5 separate regions of the Homo sapiens genome follow, and all the other regions are linked to region 3. The links are contacts of gene promoters, found by promoter capture Hi-C in blood cells and fetal thymus (Javierre and others, 2016). All regions are on one chromosome and are shown on one strand. The core of a region is centred on a gene start or on the middle of the fragment in contact, and the rest is flanking DNA. Distances in the headings are between cores, read along the strand shown.

What was found. Contacts are between HindIII fragments. The CHiCAGO score rates a contact against its expected background, and 5 or more counts as called.
Region 1: a contact is called between a fragment that was not itself captured here and the fragment with the promoter of ACSS3-AS1 in region 3, in 1 of 17 cell types (M2 macrophages). The highest score is 5.6, in M2 macrophages.
Region 2: a contact is called between a fragment that was not itself captured here and the fragment with the promoter of ACSS3-AS1 in region 3, in 1 of 17 cell types (endothelial precursors). The highest score is 5.8, in endothelial precursors.
Region 4: a fragment that was not itself captured here is called in contact with the fragment with the promoter of ACSS3-AS1 in region 3 in 2 of 17 cell types (M0 macrophages and M2 macrophages); the score reaches 8.8 in M0 macrophages.
Region 5: a fragment that was not itself captured here is called in contact with the fragment with the promoter of ACSS3-AS1 in region 3 in 3 of 17 cell types (M1 macrophages, M0 macrophages and erythroblasts); the score reaches 6.7 in M1 macrophages.

What each region holds. Positions count from the first base shown.
Region 1 is chr12:80,497,446-80,500,145 of GRCh38, forward strand. All of the region lies in intron 14 of PTPRQ (protein tyrosine phosphatase receptor type Q), which reads left to right. LOC124902975 (a long non-coding RNA gene) reads right to left here. Exons shown (of 3, transcript XR_007063389.1): 2 at 31-142. Among named protein-coding and RNA genes, the nearest start is that of PTPRQ, 55 kb to the left of the region's middle. The HindIII fragment of the contact is 2,663 bases long and covers 14-2,676 here.
Region 2 is chr12:80,312,279-80,314,978 of GRCh38, forward strand. It overlaps OTOGL (otogelin like), which reads left to right. Exons shown (of 59, transcript NM_001378609.3): 31 at 1,198-1,354; 32 at 2,027-2,053. Among named protein-coding and RNA genes, the nearest start is that of PTPRQ, 130 kb to the right of the region's middle. The HindIII fragment of the contact is 807 bases long and covers 923-1,729 here.
Region 3 is chr12:81,124,313-81,127,136 of GRCh38, forward strand. It overlaps ACSS3-AS1 (ACSS3 antisense RNA 1), which reads right to left and starts at 1,546. Exons shown (of 5, transcript XR_007063390.1): 1 at 1,272-1,546; 2 at 87-201. The region is part of intron 2 of ACSS3 (acyl-CoA synthetase short chain family member 3); the gene reads left to right. The HindIII fragment of the contact is 1,201 bases long and covers 380-1,580 here.
Region 4 is chr12:80,399,051-80,401,834 of GRCh38, forward strand. No RefSeq gene overlaps it. Among named protein-coding and RNA genes, the nearest start is that of PTPRQ, 44 kb to the right of the region's middle. The HindIII fragment of the contact is 1,706 bases long and covers 589-2,294 here.
Region 5 is chr12:80,421,651-80,424,350 of GRCh38, forward strand. No RefSeq gene overlaps it. Among named protein-coding and RNA genes, the nearest start is that of PTPRQ, 21 kb to the right of the region's middle. The HindIII fragment of the contact is 3,115 bases long and covers 1-2,700 here.

The DNA of each region.
Region 1 (2,700 bases), core at 95-2,594, 630 kb before region 3:
CTGTAAATACAGAAGCTTTATGATGCTCACCTGCTGTGTGGCCCAGTTCCTAACAGGCCACCAGCTGGTACTAGTCCGTGGCGCTGGGATTGGGGACCCCTGTTATAGAGGTTGCTGGATGGGTTGGGAGAGGATATCCCATCTAAAGGAAGTAAAACAAGCAAGGAATTACTTGTGTTTTAGTTTCGGTGAAACTAGAGTAAGACAGTTTGTCTGTTAATCTTATTTTGTTGTTTATATTGTGTTATAATTATATATTGGTGGCATAACTATTAGGCCAATTCTACAATGTATTTTGAGAATTAATAACTAAATATAAAGTTACTATTTTAATTGTACGTTTAAAACAATAAATATTTACTGACTAGATACTGGTGGAACCACATGAAATAATTTTTATAGGTCACAAATGGCCAAATATCAGCAATTTCATATAGTTCAGCCAGATACTATATACGAATTTCTGTCTTGACCTTGAGGATCTAGAAATCTAGTAAAGTAGCTTACTTTTGTAGAAAAGGATCCTGTTGAGACTATTCACAGAAATGAATACAATGAGATGATACAAAAGAGCCCATAGATAATGGCAGTAGTTGAAAGTGCAGGAATAAGAAAGTAATGAAAGGAGCATTTTACATTATCAAGAGCCTTGAAGTGACACTTAATTGATATTAATCCATATATTGGCATGTTTCATTGCTTTTGTAGATATTGTACCTGAAATAAGTATTTTTGAGAAAAATGTCTGCTCTTTAATGACTCAGTTTTATTTTGCAGTGGATTAAGGAAATGAAACAAGCATATTTTTAGCACCTATTAAGGGTCACGGGCCCTGTTGATAGGTTTCACAGAAACTGTCTTTTAAAAATTCTAAACTAAAGCAATACATTATTGTTATCTTCACAGAAAACTAAGTCTAACGAAAAATGGAGGGTTTGAGAGGTTCATTCATTCAAAAAATATTTATAATATACCAGGCCTTACTGGGGATAAAGTAGTGTAGAAGAAAAGGATTTCCTTCCCTCCTTAAGTTTTATTAGTTGGTGGGTGTTTCATTGCCTAATGGCACCAGCTGGAAAGTGATCAGCTGGAAAGTGATGAGCTGGAATTAGAATCCAAACCCATCTGACTGTAAAACCCATTTCCCTTTCACAGCACATGCTGTTTTTGAAGTAATCAACAAAGCTGGTAAATTATAAACTATATCTAAGATCTCTCTGTTCATTGTTACACTGATATTTTGTCATTAGGCTTCTGCTCAGCATGGGGAGGAAAGTAATAACTTTGAAAGATTCTATTGTGATATGAAATAATAACCATTTTTATGAATGCTTATCAAGTATTTCGTTTAAGTGGCCATAGCATCAAGAACACCTTATTTTAATGATGAATTATAAAGCAATGTTTTTGTTTTCTGATTATTACATGCACATAATCTTTTACTTAGTATTGAAAATGTAATTTTATTTTCTGTTTTATTGTCTGTATGAGTTTAATTCAAAGGCAGGGACAATAAACTTTAAGTGAATATAAATTTTGAGATTTAGTTTAAAATGAGAATTTTAATTTTGGAAAGTGTCTTAGAAAACATGCAGAGCCCTTTATTTTTTAGGTGAGAAGACCTAGGACCATTTGGGTAAAAGGACTCACAAGTTATAGTACATGAGAAGTAAATTGGGGCTTGACTATAGGCCTCCTGACCCCCATTACAGGCCTCACTTAATAGGCTCCTGAGATGGCTAAAAAAATAAAGAGAAGGGGAAACCAACATATCCCATGGCTTCCTAGCCAGGCCTAACAATCAGAGTATAGGGTTTAATGCCCATCTTCCTAATATCTGGTTCTCTGTCCTAAGTTAGGGTAGTCTCAAGTTCTGTGCATTTTCCACCTGGATGAAAATGGAAGACAATGGAATCTACATTAGTGACTTTTCCTAGATTATGTTTGCTACTGTTAAACCACCCACTTTAGCTCCTTTGGCAAAAGAGGAAGCTAAAATGTTAGGTAGGGTCTCAAGTGTCATTTGAAGCAAGATGAGCTCAAGAGCAACTATTTTTCTGGGTTTAGGCCCAAAATAATCTTATTAAATACAGTAATTATACCTTCTATTCATGTAAAAAAATATGGGCCCACTCTTCAATATTGTTTCATGAGAAATTGAGTGATGTGTTAACTCAGTGATGTGTTAATATTACTAATTAAAAATAGGAGTAAGTTATTTGGTTAAATGCCTTATCTTTTTAAGAGAAATAGAGTTTACTAATGCTTGGAAGTAAAACACCCTTGTGTTCAAGCAGGAAAGATCAATACAAGATTGATTCTGTGTGTGTGTGTGTGTATCTCTGTGTGTGTTTGTGTGTGTTTTAATCATAGATGTGCAGTTTTCCAATAAGCCTAAGATTAGTTTTTATTTTCTCATACTTAGGGTGTAATAATCATAAATACAACTTTGAGAAGTTCCCATACAAATTACTCTTTTGATGATCTATACATATTCCCTTTCCTTTTTAAGACACAACCATCTTTACTGTAAGCCTTTAACAAAACACCTTGTCTGATTTGGGGCAACAACCATGAGTGGATAATAACTTAGATGTTGACCAAAATTTTGTGTAGACCCCCATAAATTTATTTGTATTAATGAATAACATTTTAAAATTTGTCTGCATACATTAAAGCTTTATATGCCAAACAATAGTC
Region 2 (2,700 bases), core at 76-2,575, 810 kb before region 3:
ATGAAGAAGCAGATATGAGAATCCCCCAGTGTGCTATTAAGCCACACATTAAAGAGATTTGCAAAAATGTAAAACAGTGCACTCTTTTCACTATTTCTTAGCATATATAAATATTTTTCAATAAAATCATGTTATTCATGTAAACATATAGGGTTTATTGTTATTTTTAAATGTCTCATTTTTAATGTCTAATAGAGTAAATATTGGTAGATATAATCCCATAAACAAAACCTCTTTGGGGATCTCAGTGATTTTTTAAGAGTGTAAAGGGATTCTGAGACAGAAAAGTTTGAGGACTGCCATATTAGAGCCACATAGGTAGACTAAAGTCTTGTTTATAAAAAGGGTTGCTTTTGAGACTTTTCAGAGTTTCCAAGGACCACACCTGCTTGACAAGGAATATTGTGTCAAGTCTGGAGTCCTGAACCACAGAGCCTGCTGGTTCTTTTCCACTTGAAAAGAAAAATTAACCCATGAACTGACCTAAAAAATAAAATACAGCTCAGTGACAGCAAATCCTGCTTCTTTTCTTCTTCTTCTTCTTTTTTTTTATTTGAGACAGAGTCTCTGTCGCTCAGGCTGGAGTGCAGTGGTGCGATCTCAGCTCACTGCAACCTCCGCCTCCCGGGTTCAAGTGATTCTCCTGCCTCAGCCTCTTGAGTCCCTTGCTCCTTTTTTAATGCACTGTCAATATATTAAATTTTGTCAGCTACTTAAATGTAATGCAAATAAATAAATTAAGTAAATAGAATAAGTTGTTTTTAAAGATTGCTATTACCATTAATAGCCATTAGGATGTTGCATGAGCAGGGGCAAAAAAGAAAGGAAAGAAGGAAGAAAGATACGAAATTATATAAAATTACAATTGGAAGCAGAAGGTGCCCTTATTTTAATGTCATGTGATTACATCAATAATGACAGAAGCTTCCAAAAATTAATCTGTTATATTGCAGATGTTGAAGTCATATATATTTATTAATCTTATTATTTCTTTTGCTAGTTCTTTGATGTGACATTTTCCTAATACATTTCTTTCTCCTTTGGGCAATAAAGAGGCTTTAAATAAAGAGAACTCTCTAGGTGGCAGTGTTAAGCTGATAATATCAAACTTTGAAAACACATAGTTTTTTAGACGGTTGACTTTAAATCATAATCAGTATCTATTGAAATTAAGTAATCTTTCACCTCATTTTTCAGATTGACGTTACTTCTTTTGCCAAAAATTGTCATGAAGATACATGTAACTGCAATCTTGGTGGCGACTGTGAGTGTTTGTGCACTAGTATAGCTGCATATGCATACAAGTGTTGTCAGGAAGGAATATCAATTCATTGGAGATCATCTACTGTTTGTTGTAAGTACCCTACTTAGAACATCATTATGTAGAGAACTGATAAAGAGATACATATTAATTGTTGATTTAGCTTAGAAATAATGCCAGGAGACTCATGGGAATAGAATTAAATTAAAATGACTAAATTTTATATTCCTTTGACAATCATAAATTATAGAATACCGAAAGGACTTATAAAAATAAATTGTGAGATAATATTTTGTTCTGTGTTTTATTGCTGTCATTGTACCATTTGAAATATAAATTATTTAAATACCATCCTTAGAGAAATTGTTTATGACTTTATTTCTTTTATGCCTATGAAGTTTCATCGTTCTGATGATAAATATATTTTAAAAAAATCACCTTGAATTTGCTTTCAGATTTGACTCTTTAAGCTTTTAATTTACTTGTGTAGGTGGTAAGATATCTGAACAAACTTACAATTTGAACACTTTCAGCTGAGGTTTCTAAATTGGCAATATATTTTCCTACTTTAAAACAATTATATGAAATTTAATTAATTACAGCATATCGCTTAAAGAATCTTCTTTGCTCAGAAAAAGTTCCTAAATAATACCATTTTATATTCTTTCACATAGTTATTGATAAATATGTGGCCATATCTTGCCCACATTCAGATAAGTGATTGACTTCTTACATAGTTTAATATTTATTCTTTTTTTCTTTTAGCACTTGATTGTGAATACTACAATGAAGGTATGTGACATTCAAATTAAAAATATCACTATAGTATTCTATTAGGTGTATTTTCATATTAAAAATTTTTGAACAACTTATGCTGTGAACAAACTATAAATAGTTCATAACTATATAACTCCATAAAAGCTTTTAATTTTTAAAATTTTCAAAAATTTCTCAGTATTTGTGTTAAGATTTATTTCCTGAAAACTAAAATAGTGTGTAACTTAAGTTCTCAGAATTTAAGAGGCCCTCAGTACAGTTTTGGAATGACATGAATGAATGGGTGGGTGAAGTTAGTTAATTTTTTAGATAAAAAGGATGAAAGATCTATAACAAATGCATACCTTTACCATTATTTATAAATGTAAACATTGTTCAAATGTTTTTTAAAATTTTATCTTATTTTTAAATTGACAAATATAATTGTATATATTTATGGGGTACAATGTAGTGTTTTGATACATGTACACATTGTGGAATGATCAAATCAGGCCAATTAGCATATCCATCACCTCAAATATTTACCATTGCTTTGTGGTAAGAACATTTGAAATTCTTTCTTTTAGCTATTCATTCTTTAAAAACCAAGAAATTCTATCATTTGCAACAACACGGATGAACCTAGAGAACATTATGCTAAGTGAAGTAAGTCAGGCACAGTG
Region 3 (2,824 bases), core at 296-2,795:
AGTCCCTAGGTAAGGGTCTCTTCTGTGTTCACTTTTCTGTTATCCGGGTTAGGTTTTTTAGTTTAACCACACAACTCGTCTCTTACCAGTATCCTCACTTCTCCTGCATATTGTTGTTCCATTTCACTCTGTGGCAAAACTCCAGACCTGGATCAATCCAATTTCTTATTGTCTTCATTACTGTATCTGATACGTTGAATCCTGTTAAAGAAAAATCACGTAACTACAAATATAGATTTAATATAAATTTATGGTATCCAGTGTCCACTGGGACTTCAATGCTGCATTTTCTTTTTTTCTTTAGCATTTCTCGAGTAAGTTTCTCTTTTACTCTCCAAAGGCCATTTTAAACTTTTGGCTTTCCTGCCTCTGTGCCTCAAGCTTAACAGGGTACATTGATTCAAACCTAGCAATGATTATATAAATTTATTATCACCAGACCAACAGACTTGCCTGTATCCACACCCATTGTTTTCTCTTTCCCTCCTTTTAAAATAGAAGGTAATCTTTCTTTGGTCTCCTGGAGCCATTCTATCAATTCTTTTTAGGGCTCTTGTTCTGTTAATCTATCTTATACCTATCTCACTGCTGGCTCTTTCTCTTAAAAGCATGCATAAATTGTCCGGGCTTGGTGGCTCACGCCTGTAATCCCAGCACTTTGGGAGGCCGAGGCGGGCAGATCACGAGGTCAGGAGATCGAAACCATCCTGGCTAACACGGTGAAACCCTGTCTCTACTAAAAATACAAAAAATTAGCCGGGCGTGGTGGTGGGCGCCTGTAGTCCCAGCTACTCGGGAGGCTGAGGCAGGAGAATGGCGTGAATCCGGGAGGCGGAGCTTGCAGTGAGCCGAGATTGCGCCACCGCACTCCAGCCTGGGCAGAAGAGCGAGACTTCGTCTCAAAAAAAAAAAACAAAACAAAACAAAAAAAATACATAAATGTTTCTACTACTAGCTAGTTTCTTATCTATTTTCATTCACTGATTAACTTCAGAAAAATGCCTTTTAAATTTCCTTACCACACACATAACCAAAACCCTCTAAAATATGCTACTGCCTCATTTAGCTAAGGTAATTAATGCTTTCTTCTTATTAATTCCAATAGGTGTTCAATATTTTACTTCCTCTCTTTATTATGTCTAACATTTTTGTCCATTCTCTGCCAGTCTTCACTTAACTTCTATATACCATTCTGCCCTCATTTTCCTTTCTTTCCTGTGTTCATTCTAATTATCCTTCTTAAATGCTTCTTTTGCCTGTCCCTTCACTACCTGCTTCTAGGTTGCCTTCTTTTTCCATTTTACACATCCCGCCTGGGTGATTATATCTGCGCCAATGGCCTTTTTTGCCACATATGTGATGGTTACTCCCAGTGGCAACGCTGGCTATTCTCAGTTCTGTGTCATCAGCCCACATCTCTCTTCTGATGTTGAGATCATATGCAGGATTGCCGAGTAGGTGTCTATACATGGTTGTTCCACTAGCGTCTCAAATTTAAACGTGTCCAATGTGAATGGCATCACTTTCCAATCAGTTGCTAAAACCCAAACTGTGGCCCCATTCTTAATATTTCTCAAATAAGCTTATTTATTTTTACCCCTATTACGCAATAATCGAGTTTATGCAATAATCATTACATTAATGATTCTAGTTTATGCAATAATCATTACATTTTAAGAATGTGGAAAGCACTTACTTTTAAAGAGGATGAACATTTTTCAATTATTACACATTGTTTTTCGGGTTAGTCTAAACTCGATGGGCATAACAAGACTCTGTATCATGTCTAATATTGTTTCTTCATGCCTTTCCAGTTCATCTCACAACCCACTTCATCCTGAATGTTTTCTCTCTCTATACTAAACTGCCTTCACTTTTTCAGCCAAATGGCACATGCTGTGATGATTAGAGATATTGGCAGCAACTCTCCAGTGAGTAAAAGCAGGAGAAAGTTACAATTACCCAATTATTAATGTCTATAGTGGAGAGATGTTAAAATGGTAAAAAGTGGATGCAATCCTTAATTATTCTTTGTCTGTGTATTTTCTTTCCTTTTTATTGCATGCACCCTAGTCCTGTTGTGTGTTAATAACAGGCATCAATTGCATTTTCCATTCTTTTAGACCTTGGACTTCTCCTTGACGTAGAATTATTTTCTCTGTCCACAATGGCCTGTTACACAGAAATACTGTTTTAAAATTAACAAAATATGCTTTACAAGATGTGATGAATTCTGATGATTTTCTTGTAAATTTTAACATAAGTATCAAGGAAATGGAAGACAATATTCCTTATCAAGACTGAGCACATATACATAGGGAAATACAGGATTTAACTAATTTTCTGTGAAATTACAGTCTGAAAATCACAGTAGTCTTGAAAGCAAAGATTATTGAAATACTGATTATTTTGAGCTTGAACTAAAGGGATTAAATAATTATCTATTTCACTTTGCTTGTGAATACATAGTCTGAAAATGACTAAATATTGATTGAAACCCATGTGTGAAGAAACTGGTAATGAGAAAAATGATAATTCTGAGTAATGGTATTTACTCTTTCATTTGAAGAAAATTATTTGAGAAGAAATGTGCTAGTAAATGTTTTCTAGACCACTATCAGATAACTATTTTGAATGTAAGATAGCGTTTTGTAATTGTTCTTGAAAAATTTAATACAATGCGATTCTTAAATATAAAATAAGTATTCCTCTGTGTTTTAGATAAATAATAATACATTTTACTTGTAAGTGTAAATGTAATGTTTTCATCTTTAAAAGAAAGATTTTTCTTTTTTAGATAACATCTCTAACTTTCCTGGTTTTA
Region 4 (2,784 bases), core at 192-2,691, 730 kb before region 3:
TCCACCTCTCTTGGCCTCTTAAAGCGCTGGGATTACAGGCATGAGCCACCATGCTTGGCCAATACCTTCTACTTTTAAAGACTCAAAAGATATGCAGAATCCCCAGGAATTAAAACAAAACAAATATAGTTCACACCTATAACTGTGCTTGAATCCTTGCCATCATGGAGTTCCTAATCTAGCTGAGTACATAAATGTATAAAAAGTAAATTTTCGTGCTACAGTATAAACAAAGATCTACAGGAAAACAGACATGTAAATGTTTATGGCCTGTTACTTCATTGAGGGTACATATAAGTCAGGGTGCCAAGGAGGAGAGGAGAGAGATGAGGTTGAAAAGTGAATTTGGTGAGAGGTACATTATAGACAACAAAAAGTCACAACAGGCTTTTAAGTACCCTCCATGCATGATTATATAGTATCATGTGTGTATTTCAGAAAGATCACACTGGCTAGTAGTATGTAAGAGAGATTGGGAGTATCAAACATGGAGACATAATCCAAGTGTTAGTGTATTAGCAGTAGCTGCAGTGAACTAATGTTGGTTGTCTTTCAATTAAGTTTTTACACTCTACTAAGCACTCTTCAAGCTTACTCTTCACCACAGCCAAATTTTCAAAGAGCTGCTTAGCTAGTAAAGGGAGCCACAGGATCTGCACTGAGGTACAAAGTCTTAACATGATACATGTTTTCCAGACAGAGCAAAAGTGAGATCGCGCACGTGTGTGTGTGTGTGTGTGTGTGAGAGAGAGAGATTTAAAGTTTTCAATTAAGTCTGTAACAGTGGTAATAATGAAGAATTAATCAGCTTAAGAGGCAGTTTAGGAATGGAATCAAAGGGATTTGCAGGATAAAGTGGCACTGGATGGTGAGAAAAGGATCTGAGGATGAAGAGGTAGTGATTTTCCTTTGGTTGTTTGGGTGAAGGATCTTTTCCTCAGGAAGAGCTGGAAAAGGAGTTTATAAATTTAGGTTTGAAAATATGGTTTTGAATCGTTTATAGGGACATCCAGATGGAGATGCCCATTTTGGAGCTATAAATACTTCTCTGAAGCCCTGGAAAGACATGAAATTCAAGATGGAGTGATCGAAGATCTTGAATATGGTAGAATCACAAGAGTGAATGAAGTATTCCACAGTCAAGGAAGGCACAACGGGTCAACTCAGTTTTTGAGTTGGCAGTGTTGGAGGACACAGTGACGCAGACTAAGCAAATGGAAGCAAGAGGGGAGGGAGATGTCAGGGAAGCTGAGATCTCGGGGTTCAATCAACATTCTCAAATGCCGCAGAGAACACACACACACACACAGGCACACACACACGTTAACAAGGAGTGTGGCTTCATACAAAGCCACATATTTGATCTTAAGCCAAAACTGGGCTATTCACAGCCATATAGTCGACTTCTGCTTTTTGTTTTGTTTTGTTTTTAAATGAGATACCAATGTGTCCCACCTCGCGTTCTCCTTCATCGCCCTTCCCTTTCCTCCCTTCTTCTATGCAGAATGCAATTCTCCTCCACATTTCAATGTTTTGGGACTTGCCTCCCACTCCTCTCCCTTCCCAAGGCTTCCTGTCTCCATGGAAACATTCGCTTAATTAACCCAACGCAGGGAGAGGGCATCGCTGGCCCAAATGAAAGCCGCCAGAGCAGCTGCAGCAAGAGCTGGAGCAGAGCGAGAGAAGGAGACTAAAGGGAGGCAGGCTGCGAGGTGGGCTGTGACCCAGGAATCGTGGGCAGCTTGGGCCGCCGCACCCAGAGCAGTGCCAGCACCTCCGGGCCAGTTGCCCTGGCACCCGAAACTTGCAAAGCACAGGCGCCGCGCGGCTGCAGGTCCGGGTCCGGGTCCAGATGGGGGTCAGGGCGGATTGCAGGGGTGCCGTGGCTCCTGCGACTTCTCAGCCTTGCATCCTCTGCACTTTGACTGTCTTCCAGGTCTCAGCTCTTTCCTTCTTTCTCCACCAGTCTAACCATTCTTTAAACCTCAATCTTTTCGTTTATACTCTGCCTCTCTCTCCCTGTTTCAAAAGTTGGTGCTTTTTGACTCTAAAATAGTGTGCATTAGGACAGGGGCTCTTTACACACTCCCAGGGCAAACACAGTGACTCACAGAATTGAATTTGAGTGGGGGTTTGGACTTAAAGAGCGGGCATCCTGGAGCTTTCCACTTTCGCATTTGTATTATGGTACACAGCCTTCAAAATTATAGTTTACGCTTAGATTTAGGGGGGAAATTAATACCATAGCCCTAGAACACTTACATCAGGTTGCTTGGGAAAATGGGCAAAGTTAAAGCTTTGCAGTTTTGTGGAAGGGTCTGGATTTAACTATTAGGCATTTCTTTTTGACTGGGTTGCATTTTATCTGAGCTAAACTCCTGCTTAAGAAGACCTAAAGAGGATTCTGTAGGAATAAACTTGCTTTACAGTGAGCTTTCAGGAGCTTTAAATTTGATCCTGGGGAACTGTTTACTATTAAAATGGTATTTTCAGTTTTAAAAACATATACAAAATACAGGTTTTTTTTCTTTGTATCTTAAGTTGAATACAAAAGTTTTTAGGTCCTTGGGGGCTCCACGTTCCTATGAAAGGCTAGGCAAGCTTTTTAGATGAATATATTTTAAAAATAAATTGAGTTGAAACGACTATTGAACGTTGTTTCTATTTAAGTTTCAGTTTCATGTATTTTGAAATATTTTTCATGATGATGGTGTAATTTTAAAATGTGAGGAATTAGTTCCAAAGAAGCAGCAGTTGCATAGGTGTTCTAGATTTCCATTAATT
Region 5 (2,700 bases), core at 93-2,592, 700 kb before region 3:
ATGCCATACAAACCAAAATCACATGGAGTCCTAAAAACGTAATTCTGACTTATAACATGTCCAGTGCCCTCATTATTTGCTCTTCCTGTCTCTATATATATCCACCTAGGTCATTAGGCTACCATGTATCTTTTCCCTCACAAATTGTAACATTTCCATTTCCGTTGAAATTCAACTTGTCTATAAAATACTCTCAAACTGATGTCAGAAATCACATTACTTTGACAGCATTTTAGCATATTTATAATCATTTCAATACCTATTTATATTTTATTTTTGCTTTCAATTTCTATGTACTTTTTATATCTGTATTCTCTGCCTGTCTTCATTACTTTATAAATCATTATGGGCTACAGTCTTTATATTTGGCAGTTATTGTCTTTAAACAAAATTACTACATGATTATCTAAATACATCAATATTGTGATATCAATCAGCAAAATAAATCAATATATAAGATGATAGTTTAAAGCTGCCATTTTCCCCATTTTCTGAAATAATTTTTTCTTATGCTAGATTAAATCTTCAAAATGGGAAAAAGAAACATTAACACTCATCAGATACAATTTATTTTTAGCTTCAGCAAATATTTGATACAAAGGGGATTCTTTCACTTACTTGTCTAAAATTCATATTTCTTTCTCTGTTGTCTTTTCAGCTTATGCTAATAGTTTTAATCTTTTTGTTTCCTTGAATATTGTGTATTTTCTTCAGTGAATTTGTTCCTGTGTGGTTTTTTGCTGCAGCACCAAAATTAGCTGTATGTGATGGTGTTTGCAATGGCTTTCAGTATTGGAACTGATTACCGTATTTTATAAACTGTCATTGAATGTGTAAACAACTATTTTTAATTAGGATAGAGGCATAGATTAATTAATAAACTATTGTTCTTTTTGACATTATTATGTTTTTTATTCCCTTTTAAGGGATAAGTTAAAAAAAACAATTAGGAAATTTCCAAGAGGAATTTAAGTTTGTTGTGTGTTTGGATAGGTCTGGAAGCACCACTGAATATCCATGAAGGCAAAGTTACAGATTCTTCTATAGACATTCTCTGGAATCGAGTTGATGGGAATTTCCAGCATTATGAAATCACATGCATAAACTATGCTGCTGCTTTCATGGTACGTTATAAAGGGCTCTTAGAGGAATTAAACTTGAATGTTTCATGCTGAAACCAACATTACTGCATTCTTACATTGGATAGTAGTGAAACTAAATAATTCCCAATTGTATTCAGTTGTGGAGCTTTTCTTAAACACATACTTGATAATGTATTCTTTTGGATTGATAGGTTCAGAAGGTAGTTCAAGAAACAGCAATATTCTCTAACCTGGATCCTGCCACAGTGTACACCTTTTCTATTCGGGCTGAAAAAGAAGGTTTTAAAGACATTACTGCTAACATAAAAGAAATACAGACAGGTTACCGCCTATGTAGGCACCTTAGGAGTTTCTTTCATGTTCAGATATTTCCTTGGTCCTTTAAGGGAAGATTAGTAAGTACTTCATTCCTCCCAGGTTTTCTTTATGGGCATTGTCTCTTGTATCTTTTTCTTTTTCCTTGGTATGGGTTATCACAACATCCTTTTAAGTATGTATTGTCAGATGGTAGCATTGCTAACTGCTTATGGTCTGGCCAGAGTTTCCATTTGTGATTTAATTACCCCATTTTCCAATGAAGTGCCACCTTGCCAGTGTAAACATTTTATTCCCAAAGGCAGATGGTGATATATCCCATGGTAATCATATGAAATAAAGGATGACTGGGAAGGATGCATGCAACTGTATAAGCTGTCGTATCTAGTAAAGTAAAATTGTCAACTATTCTACTAAACTATTTTAGTTATTCTTGACGTTGATGCAATGGGTACATTGATTTATATATTTAGAACCTGGCCATGTCTGGTATTCTTTTAATGTAATAAGAAAGAATGAGATTGAGAGAATATCTTCACAATTTGATTCCTTTCTCATATATGGGAGAATTTTAAAGAGAAAACAATATGCCCATTATACACTATTTAATTTAACTTTTTTTCCTCAGGAAAGAAGGGAGGCATTTCATATTCAGATTGCAATTAACTTTCCTGCTAATTAGACTTGGCACTCCTTGGTATTTAATTAGGATGAGTCCTAAAAATAATTAAATATTTCTGAAGTCAGTGGTTACACAAGACTAAGGTATGATCTACTTCCTGCATTTTAGAGGCCAGGGACATTTTGAGTACAATGCTACTGGGACACATTTTGTACACTTAAAGCACACATGTATTTTATTTCAAAGTTTAAAATAATTCTGGCTGTTTTTAAACAATACTTTTAACTTCTCATATCTAGCAGGTAGAATAAAAGGAAGCGATTATCCTCAGCAAACTAACACAGCAACAGAAAACCAAACAGTGAATGTTCTCACTTATAAGTGGGAGCTGAATAATCAGCACACATGGAGACAGGGAGGGGAACAACACACACTGGGGCCTGTCACGGAGGTCGGGGAGGGAGAGCATCAGGATAAATAATACTTGTGGGGCTTGATACTTAGGTGATGGGTTGATACGTGCAGCAAACCACCATGACACATGTTTACCTATGTAACAAACCTGCACGTCCTGCCCCTGTATCCTGGAACTTAAAATTAAATTAAATCAAATTAAATTTTAAGAAAAAGGAGTGCCTTGGTTACCCTCAGGGTTTGCAT